Regions from separate parts of the Homo sapiens genome. Here all the other regions are linked to region 1. Evidence: promoter capture Hi-C in 16 types of primary human blood cells and fetal thymus (Javierre and others, 2016). All regions are on one chromosome and are shown on one strand. Each heading gives the region's core, a stretch centred on a gene start or on the middle of the fragment in contact. The rest is flanking DNA. Distances are from core to core; before and after follow the strand shown.

Region 1 (2,700 bases), core at 171-2,670:
TGTAGTCCCAGCTACTTGGGAGGCTGAGGCAGGAGAATGCTGTGAACCCAGGAGGCGGGGCTTGCAGTGAGCCGAAATCACACCACTACACTCCAGCCTGGGTGACAGAACGAGACTCAGTCTCAAAAACAAAAAAAAAAATCAGCTGATCAGCTGGGCGTGGTGGCACACGCCTGTAATCCCAGCTACTCTGGAGGCTGAAGCAGGAGAATCGCTTGAACCTGGAAGGCAGAAGTTGCAATGAGCTGAGATCAGGCCATTGCACTCCAGCCTGGCCGACGAGAGCAAAACTCTGTCTAAAAAATAAAAAATAAAAATAAAAAAAAGACTAGGAATTTTCCTTCTTGTACACCTTCGTGAAAATAAGTCTTTCTATTTGTGCAAGTTTAGAAACTGCAATTACAGACTTCTTGGCACTATGGAGCCTAATGGTCAAGCAACCCTGCAATGGAGAGACAGTATAAAAATTATCTGGACAATGCAACACTTTATCACTTGTTCAGAAATTTGAGAGGATGAGAATAATTAAGATTTCTGATAATGTGTTATGATCATGTATTTATTGCTACAGTTAGTTATATATTTTTTGGCACAATGTTTACCTGCTAATCTTAATGGAGTTAAGATAAAATTCAATTGTAGGCATTTTTCCCTTCTATTGGGTTAATTAGTCCAAGCGAACTGAGCAAAGGTTGCAGGGAGCCCCAGCATGGCTGAGGAAGACCTGGTGAGGCATCCACTGGCTGCTGGGAGGAGAGCATTAGAGGTACCTTCTGAACAGCACTGTCCAATAGAAATATAATGCAAGCCACATATATAATTCTAAATTTTCTAGTATTTATACTTAAAAAGCAAGAAGAAATAAGATGACTTTCACCCAACACTGCTTCCAAATAAGCAGTACTCTGGAGAACACGAGAAATCCTCAGAAAAATAAGCTGCAGCTCTGAGGTGCTGATTATGGTAGGGCAATCAATACAGATCAAAACATGGCACAGGGAGCTTAAGTTCCTAGGGAGAGTAGAAAATCGATAGAGCCAAGAAATAGCTCACCTTTGACTTATTTTTAACCTGAGTAGCTATCATATGCCAAGAGCTGTGCAGTTTTCATTTACCCCATGCCAAGAACGTAAGTAGGCTCTACTGACCAGGAAGTTAAGTAATATGCCCGAGGTACGTTTTCAATGGAAGAGGCTGACTGAGGGTCACCCAACTTATATCTCGAAATTTCACAATTTCTACAAGTTCTGTCCTGGGAGGCAAGAGTAGGTGAAACGAGCACACTCTACGCCAGGCAAACAAACCTCAACGCTTAGCCTCCCGGCACCTCCTAGGGCCGGAAGCTTCTCAGCCCAAAGCCGCTGCTGGCTGCAACCTCCGTCCCGCAGTCCAATTAGCAGCCGCGACCCGGCGCCCGCCCACGCCGCGTCACGAGTCAGCCAAAGATGGCTGCGCCCAGGTAATTTGAGCAAAGGCCACAGTGAACTCCGGCGTGGCTGAGGAAGGAGGAGGCACCCACAGGCTGCTGGGAGGAGAGCATAAGGTACTGGTATTCCGGGGGAGGGGGTGAAGTAAATGTCCCGGTGTCAGGAGAAGCACGACGCGGTGACACGCTAGCTACCAGCAGCGCTGCGCGTAAATGAGAGCAAGTAGAAGTGTAGTTAGCTCTTCCTGCTGTCTTTTCACTTTGCACTCTAGAAGGAAAGACCTTATATTTAAATTAACTCAGTAGAAAGGAGAAATGCCTGAGATTGAATTTAATCCCAGGTTTACTGTCAATTTACAAGGTGACCACGGCCAAATTTGATTTTCAGAGGTCCCACTTTACTTCTCTTTCAGATAGGCCCCACACTGCCTATCTCTCAGAGCTCTTCCAAGAATGACATGAGATAGGTAACACAAAAATCTTTCGAAATATTTGTAGTTTTTACAGGCGGCGTTGTCTTTGATAGATATTTGTTATTAATATCGGAGACAAAATGCCCACAGGGGCTGCCCAGTCAGCACTTATACTGAATTGAGTGACTTAATTGCCCTCAGTACAATATATACATACTAAATTTGATTATATATTTCACCACCCCATACACAAAATCATTCAGAGCTCCTGTACAGCAGAGATTGTGTCTTATCATCTTATCGTAGCCAAGGCCCTCAAAAATTTGACTACCAGAAACCTAGACATAAATTTCTAAGGCTGCTTTGTACTTATTAGGTTAGCTTTAAGTCTAGAGATATGGAATGTCAAGGTAATCAACATTTCCAAATGACCTCTTATCGATATAAAACAGGTAGCAATAAATATTTAAACGAGTGCCTGTAATGTTGTAGGAAATGAGAAAATCTGGTTTCATAAAAGCATGTTTTCCTTTGTTGTTATCCCTGAACTGTTTTTTTTTTTTTTTTTGTAGACCGAGTCTCGCTCTCACCCAGGCTGGAGTGCAGTGGCGAGATCTCGGCACACTGCAACCTCCACCTCCCAGGTTCAAGCGATTCTCCTGCCTCAGCCTCCCGAGTAGCTGGGATTACAGGCAGCTGCCGCCGTGCCTGGCTAATTTTTGTATTTTTAAAAGACAGGGAGTTTCACCATGTTGGCCAGGCTGGTCTCGAACTCCTGACCTCAGGTGATCCGTCTGCCTTGGCCTCCCAAGGTGCTGGGATTACAGGCGTGAGCCACTGCATCCAGCCTTTGTTTTTCTT
Region 2 (2,700 bases), core at 84-2,583, 380 kb after region 1:
TCTATAAACAGGACCAGCAAAAACCAGGGATGCTTATGGAACCCATTTCTAGGCATTAATCTTTGCTTCTTGATCCATTATTGATGTCCTCTGTGCTCTAACCCACTTTTTGCTTTCTGGCTTACAAGCTATCTTTCCTCAAATTACAGGGTCTATAATTATATTTCTGGCTAGGCACCTTGACCTTTGTACCTGGGAGCTGTTTCTGAAGTTTCAGTGAGAGAAGCTAGCTAACAATAAGTCAACACATCAGTATACTTGTTCAATAAAAATTCTGCTTACCTCATTTCCATACACCATCAAATGATGAGTTGTAATGAGAGATTTGAAGACCACCACCCAACTACTATTAGTAGTTCTTTCAAATAAACTGTCTGCCAACTGTGGGATGTTCACATTCATCTCATTTGTGCACTGAATTAAGTCTGCAATAAAAAATTTTTAAATGATTAATTTCCTCTGTGGTTTTAATTTATTGTTAATACCAGATCTGCATACAAACAGGCAAAAGATTTAACACAAAGTGGAGCAGTAATAGTTTGGAGATGTTGTTAAAAATCTCTCAATTAGAGCAATTGAGACTACCATAATCTACCTAAGAAGCAGGGTACCAATTAGAATCACATAAATGATCAACAATACCAAAAAATAAATCAAACTCCCTCAGGGTATAATTCTCTCTCAAGTACTTTGGTCATCTCAAAATGAATTGTTTCAAGGTTTTGAGGAACCTTCTATTTCCTTACTACTTAAAAACCTTCCATTAAAATACTGGTATTATTCATCTCTTTAAAATTAACTTTAACATTTTTCTTTAAATAAAGCTTATTTAAAGAAATCATCCATACAGAAGAATGAACAAAATGAAGATCAAACTATCTTTATGAACATCCACCCTAGAATGCTGTCTTTGCAACAGGAAGATAACAGGGCAGAGATCTGGTCTGTAATTGAGTTGGATCTGTTTGTTCATACAAAAGATTTATACTCCTTCTCTCCCCTCTGTTCTACTGAATTAGCTCAGATCAGTTGATAACTAGGTAATACTGAGAACAAAACTGGAAAAAAAGATTCTCAATAAAACTTAAGAAGAGTAACCTACAATCTGTTTAAGAGATATTATTCGTAAACTCAATGAAGAAAATGTAAAATAGGTTGGGTGCGGTGGCTCACCCCTGTAATCCCAGTACTTTGGAAACCTGAGGTGGGGTGGATCACCCAAGATCAGGAGTTCGAGACCAGCCTGGCCAATATGCTGAAACCCCATCTTTACTAATAATACCAAAAACATTAGCTGGGCTTGGTGGCGGGCATGGGTAATCCCAGCTACTCAGGAGGCTGAGGCAGGACAATTGCTTGAACCTGGGAGGCGGAGGTTGCAGTGAGCGGAGATAGTACCACTGCACTCCAGCCTGGGCAACAGAGTGAGACTCTGCCTCAATAAAAAATGTAATATAATATAATCCAATTTAGAGATATAACAGAGGAGAAAACCAAGAAATGAGTTACTTTTAAAATATATATAAAATGTAATGTATAAATGTCTCAGCTATACTACAATAAAGGGAAAAAAGTTATTCATGACATTAATTTGTTCACTTTTAATCTTCAGTGTGTAATGATTAAATATGAATTCAAATGATCTAACTTGGCCTTGATTGCTAGCAAGAAATGACAATGTAACTACCAACATTTACTTAAAATTTTTCCTTTAATAGGTCCAATTATTATATAAGTTAATATCTGATAAACACATGCATTTTAGATAAGCAGCTACGGTGGCCAATACTGCTTAAAGAACAAAGAACAAAACAGAGTGCCCATGGAACAACAGAATGACACAAAGCTTTCACAATTCAGACTATTTGCAACAAAAATGAAACAGTAAATCCAACTTGGATATGCATGCTTCAACTTCTGAGAGTAAAAAATGGAATTTAATCTCTGCCTTCTCTAGATCTTCATAGCACTTTATAACTGGCCTATGGCACTGAACATATTACACTAGACTTCAGTTTCAACGACAGTACTTTATACACACAAACACACACACAATTTAATACTATATAGTGCATGGTGCATGGTGTGTGTGTATATATATATACTGTACTATGTATGTTATAAAACATATGTGTATGTATATGTACATATATCCATACTATATTCCCTTTGTGATCTGTTCTTCCCCCCACTGCATCACTGCCATCTTCTTTGCAATGCCTCCCATATGCCAAGCACTCTTATCTCAGGTGTTTGGTACTGTTGTTCCTCCTGCCTAGAATTCTCTTCTGCTAGATACCTATGCTGCTTGCTCCCTTCGCTTCCTTCCCATAGCTATTTGCTAAAGTGTCACCATATTAGATAAACTTCCCTGAATATTTACGCAAAATAACAAAGCCTTGGGCATTCCCCTACCTCTAAACCCTCATTATCCCCCTTACTCTGCTTATTTCTCTCCAAAGCATTTATTGCCACTGAACTCATCTTAATTTGTTTAATGTCTTTCTCTCTCAATTAAAATGTTTTTAAGTTCCATGTGGGCAGGGCTTTTTTGTTCTCAACTCTATCCCCAAAGACCTAGAATAATGCCTCAAACATAAAGATCAGTCATATTTTTTAAGACACATTCATTTTGGTATGCATATGGGTATTCTTAACATGACATTTTTTCAAAAGCATCCAAGATTGTGTCCTTACATT
Region 3 (2,700 bases), core at 124-2,623, 360 kb after region 1:
ATGTCACTCAGAAAGTTCATTTAAGTTTAATGTATACATAGAAAAGGTTAATTTATACTAATTATAGTATTGAAGACTATGCCTTCCAAAGCTTTATAGAAAAACCTTTATTTTTCACTTGTGAAAAAATAAGCCAAATTTCCCTATCCCTATAGATTAAAGCATCCCTGAGTAAGTCCACGTTACTTCAGACTATAAAAAACAGATTTAAATTTTTTAAAAGTTCATTATGGAGTTGATTATGAGAAAACAATATTCTTCTGGGACAAAATATTTGTTTTTTTCCCATCTTTTTTTATTGTGGTAAAATACCTGTAACATAAAACTTACTATCCTTTTTGTTTTTTTTTTTTTTTTGAAACTGAGTTTCGCTCTTGTTGCCCAGGCTGGAGTACAATGGCACGATCTAGGCTCACTGCAACCTCCGCCTCCTGGGTTCAAGCAATTCTCCTGCCTCAGCCTAAAACTTACTATCTTAACCCAGCTAAATTTTAAAGGCACTTTTATATTTCTAAAAATTAATAAAATGGGTGGAAAAAACATAGATACATCTAAAAAATAAAGTTCATCTTGCTGAACATCCTGGGTATAAAAATATGTAATCACTTGCAGAAGTAATTAGGTATAAAACTCTTTTCTCCAAATTAACTGTTACAATGAATGAATATATCATAATAAATTTTTAGCCAGCTTTAAGTAACAACTCAGTCAATATTGTTTATCCATATGACACAAGATAAGAAATGTTATTAGGCTACAGCAGTATTTACCCAACAAATTAATAATTCCTTCATTGTATGCTGCAAACAGTCTAATGGCATCTTTGAACAGGAGCATGAAGGCAGCATTTATTACCCCATTTGTAAGTTCATTGCTATTAACCTAGGGAAAAATTGGAAAATAAAATTAGCTAATCTTAGGTTTTAAATGACATTGACAAAAAGATTTCCTTCAAATTAAGATACAGTAAATTCATGCATTAGGCATGTTAGTGAAAAATACATTTATTTTCTCTAATACATACATAAAGATCACGGTGCAGTAGCTACCATATAAATGAACATTATTTATTATTATTAAATTTGCTGTAACCAGATAATTGTATTTATTTGACTAAAAGAATACTGGAAATATTTTTAGTTTTATCTCAAGGAATAAATCAAAAAGATAAACCAAATTAATTCTAAGTTCTTTTTTAGCACATGAAAATTAACTCGTTATATATAGAAAAACTAAGCACAAAATTGAATGGCAAACAAAAAACTGGTAAAAAAGTTATTTGCAGACTATCTAGTAGAGCTGATGTCCATTATATAGGGAGAATCCTAATAATAAATAAAGTAAATGAAAACAATTTACAAAATAAAAAATACATATGGATAATAACGTGAAAAGAAATACAACTTCACTTATCAGGTAAATTAAAATACAATAATCAAATCAAATTACTAAAATATCCTTTCCTGAACATCAGACTATATTACTCAGTGCCCATAAGAATGAAAAAAGAAAAGAACACGGTAGCTCATGCCTGTGGTCCCAGCACTTTGTGAGGCCGAGGCAGGAGGATTGCTTGAGCCTGGCAGTTTCAAATGAGACCAGCCTGGGCAACACAGCAAGACCTTGTCTCTACAAAAAACTAAAACCAAGAAAAGGCAGCTGAGCATGGTGGTGTACCCCTGTAGTCCCAGCTACTCAGGAGGCTGAGGTGGGAGGATTGCTTGAGCCCAGGAGTTGGAGGCTGCAATGAGCTATGATCATGCCACAGAACTCCAGCCAGGGTGACAGAGAAAAATGCTGTCTCAAAAAAACAAAAAAAAGATGAAAAAGCAAAAACAGACACCTGTTGAGAAGTTAGTGGCTCACCCTTTTGGAATATAAGCAATATTTATTAAAAATTTAAATGTTTATATTATTTGAACCACCACATTCTTTTTCTGGGTGTTAAACCTATTGAAATAGGTTTACAAATAGAAACACACACACACACAGAGGGAGAGACAGACAAGAGACAGAGAGAGGAGAGAGAATTGAGTGTAGCACTGTTTAGGATAAAAAAACAGAATAAACATCTATCAACAGGAGGATTAGATAAATTGTTATTATATAACAAAGTACAATACAGACATTGAAAAGAATAAGAAATTTTAAACAAATACAATATATTAAGAAAAATATGCATGGTTGGACCCTGAGATTCTATACAAACCAAAATAATGTTGAATAACTGCATCAGTACCCCATGCCTTCTAGAGCAGGGGTCAGCAAACTTTTTTTTGTAAAGGGTCAGATGGTAAATATTTTAGACTGTGGGCCACACAGTCTCTGTCATAACTTTTGAACTCTGCTGTTGTAACATAAAACAGCCATAGATAATATGTATCAGTGAGCTTGGCTGTGTTCCAATAATACTATTGAGGACACTGAAGTTGGAATTTCATGTAACTTCCACCTGTTACAAAATACCATTTAATTATTTTCAACCACTTAAAAAACATACAAAAACAGGCAGTAAGCTGTAGTTGGATAATCTCTGTTTTAGTCTATGAAATACCTGTAAGATTTATTGAATGTTTACTGAACACTTACTATGTGCCACATTAATAGGCAATGGGGGTACAACAGAGAACAAAAGTGACCTAGTTCCTGCCCTGAAGAAGCTTAAAAACTAGCAATTAAACAATTTAAAGGAAAAATCTA
Region 4 (2,700 bases), core at 59-2,558, 320 kb after region 1:
CAAACACTTCAAAGAGCAAGGAAGAATTTTGGGAACAGCTGTAGAAATTAGATTTGATTAAAAGATTCCATTTTGATGGAATTTCATTTTTCATTTAAACTACCATTTACTTTACCCCATACAAAGAGATGGATGATCTCTGCCCTTAATAATTTTTTAATCCAATTGAAAAAAAGGGAACAAAACAATGAAAGAACAATTAAAAGGTAATTCATTAAGAAAAATCTTTTGGTTTCGGCTAGCATTCTACGGACAAAATTAATCCAAGAGACTGGCTGAGAATCATTAAACATGCTTTAAAGCATGAGAAAAACCTTATCTAGTTCAAAGATAAACAGTTTACTTTTTTCTTTTTAAAAAACAGACAGTCTCACTATGTTGCCCAGGTTGGTCTGGAACTCCTGCACTTAAGTGATCCTCCTACCTCAGCCTCCCAAAGTGCTAGTATTACAGACATGAGCCACTGTGTTCGGCCAACAGTTTAATTTTTAATTATTAAAAATGTTCAATCATAAACATAAAATAAAGCTGTCTTCATTCCTCAGGTGAGCCGTCTAATGTTTTAGCTCACCATAACTATTAGCCAACAAATCAAACCAATTTTGAACACCACTGCAAGTTATTATAATGGTTACAAGTAAGTGAAATGAGAGATTAAGGAGGGGCAGAGTAAGTTATATGATGAAAAAGGTAAGTTTACAAGGTGATTCATTTACTTAACAAATAATGTCCAAAAACTATTACATGTCAGGCACTGTTCTAGGAACTAGGGACAGAGAAGTAAACATGCCAGAGAAGCTTGCCTTCATGAAGCTTATAATCTAGTAAAGAAAGCCCTTGCTAGACTGGATGGATGCCAGGTAGTCACAAGGTCTGTAAGAAAAAATAATGCAGAATAAGGAAAAGAATTCCAGATCTCATAAGGATGTGAAAGGGACACCAGATGACTGAAGACTGGACAAAGAATAAACCCACTTTATGGCAGGTGAAGGACTTATGGAAAAGACAAATAACAGCAGAACACTGGATACTTATTGAGAATTGTAAAAGCATGGAATCGAAGAACTTGAATATTCCGTTAACTCATTATTACTCTTATAAATAGGGAGGCTTCATGAGGTTGTTTTAAGATGGAAGGAAAGCTGAGAAAAGGCTTTAAATGTTCAGTTATATTTAGATTCACCTCCTTAGGCTGGACACAGTGGCTCACACCTGTAATCCCAACACTTTGGGAGGCCCAGGAGGGAGGATCACTTGAGGCCAGGAGTTTGAGACCAGCCTGGCCAACATGGTGAAACCCTGTCTCTACTAAAAATTAGTTGGGTGTGGTGGCGTGTGCCTGTAATCCCAGCTGCCGGGGAGGCTGAGGCAGGAGGTTTAACACAGGAGGCAGAGGCTGCAGTGAGCTGAAATCGTACCACTGCCCTCCAGCCTGGGGGACAGAGTGAGACTCCATTACCCACACACAAAAAAGATTCACCTCCCTAAATGTTTGAGTATGGAGATGGGTATTACAAATACTGCCTACAAAAGATTGTTCCAATATTTACAAAACGGATTAAATCGGGGAGGCAGAGAACATGAGTGACTATTGCAAAACAAGTGTGAATAAAGAGGTTCCAAGACTGGGTGAAAGCTGTAGAATGCAAGGAGAAGGGTGGGTCTAATTATAGCAGAGGAATAATTAGTGAGACTTTGTGATTAGATACATGCAGAACAAAGGAATTACAAAATAATTAAAAGTAACATTAACAAATTTAAGATTCTGACTTTCAAATGATTCAAATGACTATGTAGAGAGACCAAAGCTTCTTCAAGCCATTTCATTGCTGCCTGATTTTATTTTCCTAGTTATCAATTTGCTTCCTTCATTTGCTTTTTCAGTAATACTTAAGTACTCATTTCAAATTTTATCTTTCAACTAGAAACTTATTACCCTAATGTTCTCATTCACTTCTCTTCTGATATAAAGTAATTAAGAAAAGGTATTTCTGTCCCTGTTTTTTTTCATGCACAAGGAAATTCTGGCACTTTTCTGGTGTTTCTGTGAAACGGTTATGTGGGTTTTAGAAGGCAACAGGACGTAAAACCTGGGTTAAGAGCAGATGCTGGGTGGGTACGGTGGCTCATACCTGTAATCCCAGCACTTTGGGAGGCCGAGGCAGATGAACTGCTAGAGCTCAGGAGTTCAAGAACAGCCTGGGCAACATGGCAAAACTCCATCTCTAAAAAAAATACAAAAATTAGCCAGGCATGGTGGCATACACCAGTAATCTCAGCTACTCAGGAGGCCAAGGCGGGAGGATGGCTTGAACATGGGAGATGGAGGTTGCAGTGAGCCGAGATCGCACCACTGTACTCGAGTCTGGGTGACAGAGCAAGACCCTGTCTCAAAAAAAAAAAACAAAACAAAAACAGAGCAGATGCTGGATGACAAGCAATTTTTTGTTTGTTTTGAGATGGAGTTTAGCTCTTGTCGCCCAGCCTGGAGTGCAATGGCCCAATCCAGGCTCACTGCAACCTCTGCCTCCCTGGTTCAAGCAATTCCCCCACCTCAGCCTCCCAAGTAGCTGGGATTCCAGACATGCACCACCAAGCCCAGCAATTTTTTGTATTTTTAGTAGAGACAGGGTTTCACCATGTTGGCCAGGCTGGTCTTGAACTCCCGACCTCAGGTGATCTACTCACCTTGGCTTCCCA
Region 5 (2,700 bases), core at 135-2,634, 340 kb after region 1:
CCTCCCAGAGTGCTGGGATTACAGGCGTGAGCCACCGCGCCCGGCCCTCGCCAACTTTTAATTTTTAAAAGTTATTTAAAACAAAAAGACCCAGCTAGTATCACTATTCTAAAAGAGAAAGTTTACAGAAATACACACACACACATACACGCGTGCGCACATGCTAAAAAGAGCAGGCGCTGAGCTCTGAGTTAAGGTTAACTTTATGATATCATTACATTGTCCTGCTTACTCTTCCATTTCACCAAGGCCCAGTGAAAACTTTCTCACTAACCAGCACCAATCCACAGTTTATCATTTAGAAACCACTGGCCTGCAGGTTAAATCTCAAGAGGACAATAATAAATTAATTGAAAAGTACAAGATCAACAAGCTTTGGGGACAGAAAGACATTCCAAACACCTTTTACAAAATTTGGGTGGATTGTTAATTGATTTTGGTGGTAGTTTCACAATAAATTAGGACTCATACTTTTTTGTCAAAGTAACTACTACCATTTATTAAACACTACTAAGCACTAAGCAAGGGCTTTATAAACAGGGTATTATTTAAACCTCACATAAACCCTATGACATAGTTATTATTATCCCTGTTTTACAGATGAGGAAACAAAGAGAGATTACATAATGTACCCAAGGTCAAAGATTTAGTAAGCATCAGAACCAAGACTTGAACCCCCATTTGTTTGATTCTAGAATCTATTAGGGTTTTCAGTTTAATCCCAAGTATTTCACCTTACATAATATAGTAAGTAGAAAAAGAAATTTTTTACTATTGCTATAACTATTATTAAAAACAACCCAAATTTTATGAACTTCTTGAGCTTTTCATTGCTAATATTAGACCAAAAAAAGTGAATAATCTTTGGCAATTTTAAAATCTAAAAGCAATAAAGAAAAAATCAATGTTTAGGATTTTAGTTGATGACTACATAATAATTTAGGTGAGAAGTACATTCTAATTATGATGTGGTCCACATATACAAGAATTTTAAATTCTTTAAATTTTCTGAGAGATAGGGTCTTGCATGTTGCCGAGGCTGGCCTCAAACTCCTGGCCTCAAGCTATCCTCCTGCCTCAGCTTCCTAATTAGCTGGAATTATGGGTACCAGCTACTGTACCCAGCTCCCGAGATGGTTTTTAGTAGTAGTCATTTTGATACTTTTATATACCTAGCAAAGTGCTAGATGTTACATAGTCATGTATGTAAACTTCAGGACAATCCTGCAAGACACTATTATCCCAACTTGCATAGCCTTAAAAAGGTTAAATACTTGCTTAAAGTCAAGTTCATGAAGCAGAACTAAAATTCAAACCTAAGTTCACTAGGCTCCAAGCATATACCATCAAATGCCCTAATAAATTCCATTTTAAAATACATTTAGTCCTGTCCAATTCTTGTAATCAAGAGCCTCAATTCTTTAGTTGTGTCAAACATTCTTTTTAATGCCAACTTAACTACAGTAATAACTACTATGCACACAGAAAATATCAGCTGGACTTTTGAGGTTTTATTGCTACCACACTGGCCTTGAACATATGTGGAAAGACATAGATAATACAAAACTTCAGATTCCATAACCTTGTAATATTAAAACGTTTTCATGCTTCTGAAAATTTAAGGTTTTGAGAATGGAGTAAAGTAAGAAGATGATAAGCAACTATTCATAAAACCACCAAGTGTTTAATTAAGGCAAATGAAGTTAGGCAAAAACTAGTGTGTTCTCTGAAAGCAAATAAGTATATTTTTTCTTACCAAGTTTATAAAAACTCATTTTAAGAAAAAAAAAATCCTTCCTGCATAAATAAGTTGTAAAGATACTGTTATCTAGCTCCAAATGAGCTGGCTACAGTAGAAGAAACAAGGCACATAAAGGAAGTATTAGGACAAACTTAAGTGACACAAAAAATTCTGACAAGGCATACAAGGCAGGAAGGCAGGAAAGGAGTAAGGAAAGGGAGAAAAAGAGGGGAAGGGGAAGGAAAGAATCAGGGAAGCAGCTAGGGAGGCACGTGAGGAAGAAGAGGAAGAAGAGAAAAAAAAGAAAGAGAAGAGGAGGAACAGTTATGAGTGGGATGGGTAATCAAGAAAAACAAAAAATGGGGGGAGCCCAAGCACTTGGCATTCTTCAAATTACAACTTGCTAAAAAAAGAACTTAAGGCTCCATGAAGTATTAAAAAAACATATTCCGTTTGCATAAATTAGAAAGAAAAACCCAACACTGTATCTCATTAGAAAAGAAATATTAGGCAGTTGGCTTTTTAGCCAACACTATCGTGTCCTCTAATGTGTGGTTTTACAGCTAAGAAAGCAAGCCTACACACTTTCACAGACACTCACATATGCAGCATAGTTAAGACCACGACTCTCCTTTATGTACAATTCAGTGTTCTTAAAGCTTCAATGAGGACAAGCTACCTATTACACTGATCATTGTATCAGATAAATGTCTTCCCTCTGTCAAGGTCAGAGGCTATCTAGATACATAGCTCTTCTGATTTTTCTGGATTGTTCTTAATCCTATAGAGTAAGGGCTGGCAACTTGTATCAAAATGACATGAAGGAATTACTGCAATGAATTATCACACTTTGGATATATATGTGTTTTAAGCTATTAGACTAGTCATATTTTTACAACACCTGACTTGGAACTTTGTCTGATCTACTAACTTGCTTTCTAGTTAATTCTTCCTTCTCT

What was found. The method cuts DNA at HindIII sites, captures the fragments that hold promoters and counts their contacts. A CHiCAGO score of 5 or more calls a contact.
Region 2: a fragment that was not itself captured here is called in contact with the fragment with the promoter of TMEM126A in region 1 in 5 of 17 cell types (naive CD8 T cells, naive CD4 T cells, activated CD4 T cells and 2 more); the score reaches 6.6 in naive CD8 T cells.
Region 3: a contact is called between a fragment that was not itself captured here and the fragment with the promoter of TMEM126A in region 1, in 4 of 17 cell types (naive CD8 T cells, total CD8 T cells, total CD4 T cells and 1 more). The highest score is 7.2, in naive CD8 T cells.
Region 4: a fragment that was not itself captured here is called in contact with the fragment with the promoter of TMEM126A in region 1 in 2 of 17 cell types (total CD8 T cells and activated CD4 T cells); the score reaches 6.1 in total CD8 T cells.
Region 5: a fragment that was not itself captured here is called in contact with the fragment with the promoter of TMEM126A in region 1 in 1 of 17 cell types (naive CD8 T cells); the score reaches 6.4 in naive CD8 T cells.

The regions. Positions count from the first base shown.
Region 1 is chr11:85,646,547-85,649,246 of GRCh38, forward strand. TMEM126A (transmembrane protein 126A) reads left to right here and starts at 1,421. Exons shown (of 5, transcript NM_032273.4): 1 at 1,421-1,543. RefSeq lists enhancers at 1,182-1,231, 1,402-1,671. The HindIII fragment of the contact is 2,186 bases long and covers 1,342-2,700 here.
Region 2 is chr11:86,031,187-86,033,886 of GRCh38, forward strand. PICALM (phosphatidylinositol binding clathrin assembly protein) reads right to left here. Exons shown (of 20, transcript NM_007166.4): 2 at 283-425. Among named protein-coding and RNA genes, the nearest start is that of PICALM, 37 kb to the right of the region's middle. The HindIII fragment of the contact is 1,022 bases long and covers 823-1,844 here.
Region 3 is chr11:86,011,511-86,014,210 of GRCh38, forward strand. It overlaps PICALM (phosphatidylinositol binding clathrin assembly protein), which reads right to left. Exons shown (of 20, transcript NM_007166.4): 6 at 771-882. Among named protein-coding and RNA genes, the nearest start is that of PICALM, 56 kb to the right of the region's middle. The HindIII fragment of the contact is 2,569 bases long and covers 90-2,658 here.
Region 4 is chr11:85,969,344-85,972,043 of GRCh38, forward strand. All of the region lies in intron 19 of PICALM (phosphatidylinositol binding clathrin assembly protein), which reads right to left. Among named protein-coding and RNA genes, the nearest start is that of PICALM, 98 kb to the right of the region's middle. The HindIII fragment of the contact is 995 bases long and covers 812-1,806 here.
Region 5 is chr11:85,986,644-85,989,343 of GRCh38, forward strand. The region is part of intron 13 of PICALM (phosphatidylinositol binding clathrin assembly protein); the gene reads right to left. Among named protein-coding and RNA genes, the nearest start is that of PICALM, 81 kb to the right of the region's middle. The HindIII fragment of the contact is 2,027 bases long and covers 372-2,398 here.